Regions from separate parts of the Homo sapiens genome. Here all the other regions are linked to region 1. The links are contacts of gene promoters, found by promoter capture Hi-C in blood cells and fetal thymus (Javierre and others, 2016). All regions are on one chromosome and are shown on one strand. The core of a region is centred on a gene start or on the middle of the fragment in contact, and the rest is flanking DNA. Distances in the headings are between cores, read along the strand shown.

Region 1 (2,726 bases), core at 148-2,647:
ATGTGGTCCATCAGCAGGTGATGGGGCATAGTTTTGGTTCACACCAACTTACCCCACACTGACTTGAAGTATAGTCCATGAATTCAGCCATTGTTCTGAAGGAAGCACTAAGGGTTGGGGGTCTCTCTTCTCTCTATTTGAATAAATGGCACGTCACAGGTTAGCTCTAGGATTCCCTACTGGAGAATGAAGCCATTTTGGAAATAGTCTCCTTTTTACTTTTGGAAAGGCTCTGCAAGTTTATGTCAGAAAGAACGATGTTATTGAGAAAGAATTCCAACTCTAAAAGATAGACATGCAATTTATCCAGGATCTAAGAGACAGGCTTGCAGGCTTTCCTCTACTATCAGATGATAGCTGTAAGATTTTTTTTTTTTTTTTTTTTTTGAGACGGAGGTTTCGCTCTTGTTGCCCAGGCTGGAGTGCAATGGCGCGATCTCGGCTCACCGCGACCTCCGCCTCCCGGGTTCAAGCGATTCTCCTGCCTCAGCCTCCCTAGTACCTGGGATTACAGACATGCGCCACCACGCCCGGCTAATTTTGTATTTTTAGTAGAGACGGGATTTCTCCATGTTGGTCAGGCTGCTTTCGAACTCCCGACCTCAGGTGATCCGCCCGCCTCGGCCTCCCAAAGTGCTGGGATTGCAGGCATGAGCCACCGCGCCCGGCTAATTTTTTTTTTTTTTTTTAAGTAACCAACCAGGGCTGAACACTACCGTTATTCTACAGCTACCCAACAAGAATCTGTCAAATGTAAAGCGTTTTGAAAGGACTTTTCCATTCATTGTTCTGATCCTTTCCAGCTTCCGCTAAGGGAAGGTTTCCTCAGCTGCTTCTGCGCTGCGCACCCCTGGCTCCCAGCGGGCTACCGCGGCGCGAAGGACTGGGGCGGCCCCCGGCACAGCGACCCTCACCTCTCCCGGGAGAACGCGCTGCGGGCCGGCTGCCGGCTGTTTCTCTAGGTGGGGCGCCTCCCGGGCAAGGACCCCCATGCAGCCTTTGGGACGCTCCAGGGCATGCCAGTCCACCGCCCTCCTCTTGGCCCTCTCCAGCACTTCTAGAGCCAGCCTTGCTGAACGCTGCAGGGAACGTCGGTCCACCCCATTCAGCGCTGCGGCCGCCAAACAGTTGTCCATGGCTCCCTGAGTGGGCACACAACGTACAAACGCCGGCGGGTCAGCTGGGCCGCGGCGACCCTGCTCCAAATCCGGGTGGGAGCCCCAGCCTCGACCTCCCTGGAGACCACCGCTCCTGGTCCGCCCCCAACGCACACTCCAGCGGGAGCCCAGCCAGGACTAGGCCTAGCGCGCCCGCCCCTTCCATTTTCATCTACCCCTTCCGCTACTTAGGGAGCCCCCTCACCCGGCTCACTCGTCAAGGCGCATGCGCGCAACGCTATTCTAGGAAGAGGGACCAGGCCTAGCGCTCCCGGCGGCGCCGGCGCAGCTGGGCCATTGGCGGAAGGCGGGAGAGGCGGGAGAGGCGGGAGAAGTGGGGGAGGCGGGGCGGCTGGGCGGCCAAACACGCCTTCTGCGTCCCAGCCTTGGCGTCTGCGCGCGAGTTGCCTGGTTAACTGCTGAGCGCTGGAGGCGGGGCGCCGGGCGCTGGGGGCCGGGGGTCGGGGGTCGGGGGCCGGGGGTCGGGGGTCGGGGGCTGGGGGCTGAGGACTGAGTCGAGCCAGCAGCCCAGGGCATCTGTCCACGCTGTCAGAGGAGCCTCTGGGCGTGGGGCTGGCCCTTAGAGGGCTACTGCGCTGCTTAACTTGGTGGGTATAAAGGCAGGTCTCCTGTTGAGCTAAAAAATTATGGGGTACCAGCTAGGTAGGCAACATAGCGAGAACCCGTGTAGACACACACACACACACACACACACACACTAGCCAGGAGTGGTTATGGGGTACCAGCTAGGTAGGCAACATAGCGACAACCCGTGTCCACACACACACACACACACTAGCCAGGAGTGGTTATGGGGTACCAGCTAGGTAGGCAACATAGCGACAACCCGTGTCCACACACACACACAGTAGGAGGAGTGGTGGCGCGCATCTGTAGTCCCAGGTACTCGGGAGGGTCGAGGTGGGAGGATCGCTTGAACCCGGGAAGCGGAGGTTGCAGTGAGACGAGATCGCGCCACTGCACTCCAGCCTGGGCGACAGAGGAAGACTTCGTCTCAAAACAAAAACATCATGGGGAATAAGGCAAGTGCCTCCCGCGCCTCTTTCTGCTTGGTCTACATTTTGGGGTGTCGCTACTCTTGTTTGAGGAGGTGATTAGGCCAAACTGTGTGGCTGCCAAGGTGGCCTTTGGAGAAGGGAACAGCTCGGGATTGAGGCGAGACGGAGGCGGGGCTGTCTGCAGATGTTCCTGGCCCCCGGGGCAGGGGGCGCCTGAGAAGTTGTAGGGTCTCTCATAATCCCTCAGCGCAGCTCTCTCTCCCCTCCAGTGGGAAGTACGGATTCACATATTTTTGGAGACCTGTTCTCTTGGGGTCTGACTCCATCTTTTAGGAAGACTGCACCATGTTTAAGTAAGGAACTGTGAATGCTTACTTAAACCATGTTTAAGTAAGGACCTGTCACTCCACTCCGCTGGTTATTTGGTAGGAGATACAGCCCAGGCTCTCACTGCTAATTAGTGACTCAGCCGCACCACCCAGCGCAAAGCAAAGCGCCGATGCTTAGGAAGGTCCACTTTGAGGGACACGCTCAGTGGGGGTCACTTTAA
Region 2 (2,726 bases), core at 112-2,611, 620 kb before region 1:
GGGGTGGGTAGGAGGGGAAGGAGAGATCTGGCTCTCTGGGCAGCTGTCACCTCTAGAGAATTAAGAAAGCCTCGTCCCTCCCTTAACTCTAAGTTCTTTTGAGTTCAGACTAGGGCACATTTTCTTTGTAGTGGCCTCAAGCTTTGTCTGGGGCAAAGCAGGGTGGTTTTTTTGGACGGAGAGGTTTTCCTTGAGCACTGTCTGGATCAAATTCCAGAGGGTTATGCCCCACCTGGTTCTGTTTGCTAGCGTTTACTCTTATTTCAAGTGTCTTTTTGGGATTTTTCAACCTTGGACGTTTCCATGTCCTGCACTGTGAAGAGACCCTATAGCAGCTTTCCTAGCAATTGTCAGCACACCAACTGCACCCTTCCCCTGGAGGAAACAGGCCACCTTGCCAGGCTCCTGAGGCCCCATTCCCAAGAAGGCAGGTCAGGTTAAACTAGCAGCGACCCTAGGCCCTTTTCTCTGGGTGCCAGAGGTCATTTTCTTTTGAGCTGAGGGATAATCAGGCTAACCAAAACAGTCCAGGTTAAGCCCTGCCCAATCCAACTGGCAAAGGTGCTGGGAGTAAAGAGAAACACCCTGGAATTTGAGCAAAGTCAGATCTAAGGGGCCATGGGAGGCTGACAGCTTGGTTTTTGGTCCTGGGAAGTACAGCAGCCTGGCTGGGCCCAGTGGGGAGGAGCTCCTGGCCAGCAGCCAGGACCAGCACTGGGAGGCTGGGCGCCACCCTGCCTGCGATTTTGCAGATTCTGGTCTTCTACCCCGCCCAACAGCCCCTTTCTGAGCCTCAGTGGGCTTCCGGGGGGAGTTCTGTGTGGGTCTGTGTCTCTGTCAAGAATGAAGACTCGATCGGTGGTTGACTAGGGCTTTTGCTAATGTTATGCATCTGTAAAGGGTTCTGCAGGAAAAGTTCTGCCCAACCCTGAAGGGCTTCCGATTTCAAGTAAGTCACCATCCTTTTTAGCAAGATCATAGAACCTGATCAAAGATAACATTTATGTAAAATCAAACAGCACAACGTTTTCCCCTTTCTACTGTAAAGCTTGAAATGAAAAAGCCACATTTCAGCTCTCTGCAAATAAAGCTCGCTGAACTACAGTGCAGGAGGGGCTGCTGCGGAACACACCATCTTTTTTTTTTTTTTTTTGACCTTGGTGAACGCTGATTTTCCAGCATTAGAAAATGGTTTTTATACTGCTCAATTCATTAGGCAATCAGAAATCACCAAAGTTCATCTTGATAATCTCTGCCACAAATGAGCATTTGAGGAGGTAACTGTGGTGCAGTGAAAACACACTAGACTTGGAGCCAGAAAGTCTGGGTTCTCGTCTTGGTCCTGCCTCTCCATAGCTGTGAGGGCTGGTACGACAGTCAGCCTCCCTCCTGGACTCTTGGTTTCCTCATGTAAAAAACGGAGGTAGTAAATCCCATATGTCTCACAAAATTGTTGTGAATATATAAAAATATATGGAAAAGCACTTACTCTGTACTTGATAAACAACATCCTTTCAATATGTGTATTAGGTTACATTCCATTACATTTGCGATATTTTCTGCACCATTTCCCCCCAACCCCCCACCAATATGATAAATAAATAAATATAAAAGTAACATTTTAAAAATTGCTGTATTCAAAATTAATAATAAACTTTGGGGTAAATAAGCTTTAAAACAAAAGTACATAAGCAAAAATAAATAATTTACACCAACCCACTAACCTAATTTTCAGAGTAAAGCCATTTCCAATTACAGTACTGTTATCCCGGGCACCAGCCTGTGGTTAAACTTTGATGATTCATTATTTTTAAAAAACAGTAATAAAAATTGAATACTAAGCAAAATCTTTAACAAAACCACTGGATTTAACTTTTTAATTTTAAATAACCAAATTTTATAATTTTGTACATAATTCAATGTAATGCCAATATAATTAGCATTTCAGCTTGAAGAGCTGGTTTTTAACAGGGATGGGAAACTATAAATTATTCAAACAGTCTGCAAACCATGAGATACAAATAAAAATGGACAAGCATATAGTAGAACAAAAACCGCAGACACTCTACTAACTGGGGAAATATCTGAAGGCTTTACACCCTTTATTATCCATAATGGCTTTTGGAATTACGATTGTGTGACATATAGAACCTTTGATATTTTAGATACAGCCTTTATTTTTTTTTCCACGGGAAGTTAAAAATCCATCATAAGACTCCATAAGACTTTACTAGTCTTGCATGTAGACTCTAGGAGTTTGTGATCTGATAAAAGAGTAACATGAAAATTTACTGTATTGCCCTAATTTCATACTTCCTTGTACACAATGAATCACTCTGAGAATCTATTCCAAGGGTTATATACACAAAAGTGTCAAGAATAAAATGTTCTCCACTCTCGCATAAAAATGTGTACAGTGTATCAGGAATGGAAAACTTCTAATTTTCCTGGGCCCGGGCTTCATGGATTTCTGCTGCCAGAAGATGAAAGACTCCTTCTGCTTTATTGCTCCATTGTTCTGAGGATTAATCATCCAACCCTGGCGTTTCTCCTTGTTGGATTCTAGACGCTATTCTGATGGCTTCTTCCAGAGATGGCTGTTCTCCAAGCTGAAACAGGAACACACACATCAAACGCTAACAATTCAAAAGCCACAGTCAAGAAAATGCCAAAGAAATGTTATATGCCAGAAGTGAAACTTCTCTCTGTAATTCTGACACTTGGGA
Region 3 (2,726 bases), core at 162-2,661, 600 kb before region 1:
GCCTCTCTGTGGCTGACCTTTATCATCTCACCTTTGAACTACACCAAGAATACCATTCGGATTCTACAGTCACAAACCTTCTCTCTCTCCTAATCTCTCTGCACGTAGTCTCTGTAAGCAGACTACTGAAAAACCTCAGGGTTTCCAAACTTTGTGCCCTGATATTTCAAAGCTTTCCTCAATGGGGACCCAGCCTGCCTTTCAAGCCCAGGTTCACAGAAAGATTTAATTTGTTTGGCTTTTGGTGGATACTTACATGCTGAGTCCCATCCTGGGATATGAGTGTAACTTGTTGACTCAGTCCAGATTGGGTTACTGTGGCTACTTGTGTAGAAACAACGTCGTCCCCTTCTACACCTGTAACATACGTAATCTGGGACCCTTTAAGAACATCTTCACCTTGACCTGTTTAAAACAAATGAATCATTTATTTGACCAACCAACCAATTTGTTTAGAAAATAGGACATTTTAAATATTAAAGAGAAAATTACATAATTAAAATGTACATGTATTATATTCTAAGTCACGAAAATGGCTTCCAGGACCTCCTTCCAATTCCTCCACCTCCACTTTTGCAAAGGCAAACTACATCAAAGCAGACCAAACAAAAAATCTTTCTGCATCAAATTTAAGTGTTCTGATTTTCAGGGACCTGTTTTATTCTCTTAGTTGGAGTAATTACTTGATACTATATGTGTATTAGGGGCGGAGAGGGGAGGAACTGTACAGGAAAACTAGCAAATAACCCTTCAAATACAGCAAGTATGCACTAAATTCTCGCATTCACTTAAGAGGCTGTTAGGCCAGGCACGGTGGCTCATGCCTGTAATCCCAGGACTTTGGGAGGCTGAGGTGGGTGGATCACGAGGTCAGGAGATCGAGACCATCCTGGCTAACACAGTGAAACCCCGTCTCTACTAAAAATACAAAAAATTAGCTGGTCATGGTGGCGGGCGCCTGTAGTCCCAGCTGCTCGGGAGGCTGAGGCAGGAGAATGGCATGAACCCGGGAGGCAGAGGTTGCAGTGAGCCGAGATCACGCCACTGCAGTCCAGCCTGGGCGACAGAGCAAGACTCCGTCTCAAAAAAAAAAAAAAAAAAAGCTGTTAAAGGCCAGGCACAGTGGCTCACACCTGTAATCCCAGTCAGTACTTTGGGAAGCCAAGGTGGGCAGATCACCTGAGGTTGGGAGTTCGCGACCAGTCTGACCAACATGGAGAAACCACGTCTCTATTAAAAATACAAAACCAAGGCCGGGTATGGTGGCTCACACCTGTAATCCCAGCACTTTGGGAGGCCAAGGCGGGCGGATCATGAGGTCAGGAGATCGAGACCATCCTGGCTAACACGGTGAAACCCATTTCTACTAAAAATACAAAAAAAAAAAAAATAGCCGGGCATGGTGGCAGGCGCCTGTAGTCCCAGCTACTCAGGGGGCTGAGGCAGGAGAATGGTGTGAACCTAGGAGGCGGAGCTTGCAGTGAGCCGAGATTGCACCACTGCACTCCAGCCTGGGCGACAGAGCAAGACTCTGTCTCAATAACAAAAACAAACAAACAAACAAAAACACAAAATTAGGCGGGCCTGGTGGAGCATGCCTGTAATACCAGCTACTCAGGAGGCTGAGGCAGGAGAAATCACTTGAACCCGGGAGGCAGGGCTTGTGGTGAGCCGAGATGGCACCATTGCACTCCAGCCTGGGCAACAAGGGCGAAACTCCGTCTCAAAAAAAAAAAAAAAAAAAAAAAAAGAAGCTGTTAAAAGTGGTTAAGACTATTTTCATTTTCATAAACATTAACCACAAAGCCAGAATGGTTTGCAAACACACCCACTGATACTAAACTTGGTCTTTAGCACAACTGATTGATTGCAAACCATCAGTACACAATGACCTCACTGTGTAAAGACAATGTATGGCATATTATCTGAGGTATGGTTAATAATTTAGTGACATAAAAGGAACCTCCATCACTTCTTTATTTCATAAAGAACCAGTAAGTAAACAGCAATTTCAACAATCCATTACTACTATAATTGTCAACCAGGAAGATTCCTGGTCCCTCTCGTCTTTCATCACTTTCTACCTCCCATGAAGTCAGAAAGAGAGCAAAAAAAAAATGTTTCCCCCTCAAAGGACATAATATGCTAATCTAAGAGTACTTCTCAATTCAGTGGTTAATCCATGCACTCATATGGCTACAGTCATCAACGTGTAATTTCCATGACAGACATTACTTCATTCCTTTTTGTTCTGTTCCACAGCTATTTATATACCATTATTCCAACAGGTTACAAAACCCAGTGGATCATGTGAGAGAAAACAGAAATCCATCCCTATTCTTGGAAAAACAATCTTAGTTTAGTTTTGTTTTTAAATAAAATGTATATTATTATATTATAGACTATTTTCTAGAATATAGGAACTTCTGGGCTGGGTACGGTGGCTCACGCCTGTAATCCCAGCACTTTGGGAGGCCGAGGTGGGCGGATCACGAGGTCAGGAGATCGAGACCATCCTGGCTAACACGGTGAAACCCCGTCTCTATTAAAAACACAAAAAATTAGCCAGGCATGGTGGCGGGCGCCTGTAGTCCCAGCTACTCAGGAAGCTGAGGCAGGAGAATGGAATGAACCCGGGAGGCGAAGCTTGCAGTGAGCCGAGATCGCACCACTGCACTCCAGCCTGGGCAACAGAGCGAGACTCCATCTCAAAAATAAAAAAAAAA

What was found. The method cuts DNA at HindIII sites, captures the fragments that hold promoters and counts their contacts. A CHiCAGO score of 5 or more calls a contact.
Region 2: a fragment that was not itself captured here is called in contact with the fragment with the promoter of AKIP1 in region 1 in 1 of 17 cell types (naive CD8 T cells); the score reaches 5.2 in naive CD8 T cells.
Region 3: a fragment that was not itself captured here is called in contact with the fragment with the promoter of AKIP1 in region 1 in 1 of 17 cell types (fetal thymus); the score reaches 5.8 in fetal thymus.

Annotation. Positions count from the first base shown.
Region 1 is chr11:8,909,860-8,912,585 of GRCh38, reverse strand. AKIP1 (A-kinase interacting protein 1) reads right to left here and starts at 1,397. Exons shown (of 6, transcript NM_020642.4): 1 at 1,363-1,397; 2 at 915-1,142; 3 at 53-133. The coding sequence starts at 1,136. It also overlaps a transcript of DENND2B not described here. RefSeq lists enhancers at 1,093-1,182, 1,193-1,262 and a silencer at 1,353-1,632. The HindIII fragment of the contact is 8,527 bases long and covers 1-2,726 here.
Region 2 is chr11:9,527,413-9,530,138 of GRCh38, reverse strand. It overlaps ZNF143 (zinc finger protein 143), which reads right to left. Exons shown (of 16, transcript NM_003442.6): 16 at 1,615-2,609. The coding sequence ends at 2,526. Among named protein-coding and RNA genes, the nearest start is that of WEE1, 45 kb to the left of the region's middle. RefSeq lists an enhancer at 1-483. The HindIII fragment of the contact is 622 bases long and covers 1,051-1,672 here.
Region 3 is chr11:9,510,127-9,512,852 of GRCh38, reverse strand. ZNF143 (zinc finger protein 143) reads right to left here. Exons shown (of 16, transcript NM_003442.6): 13 at 257-405. Among named protein-coding and RNA genes, the nearest start is that of ZNF143, 50 kb to the right of the region's middle. The HindIII fragment of the contact is 2,474 bases long and covers 175-2,648 here.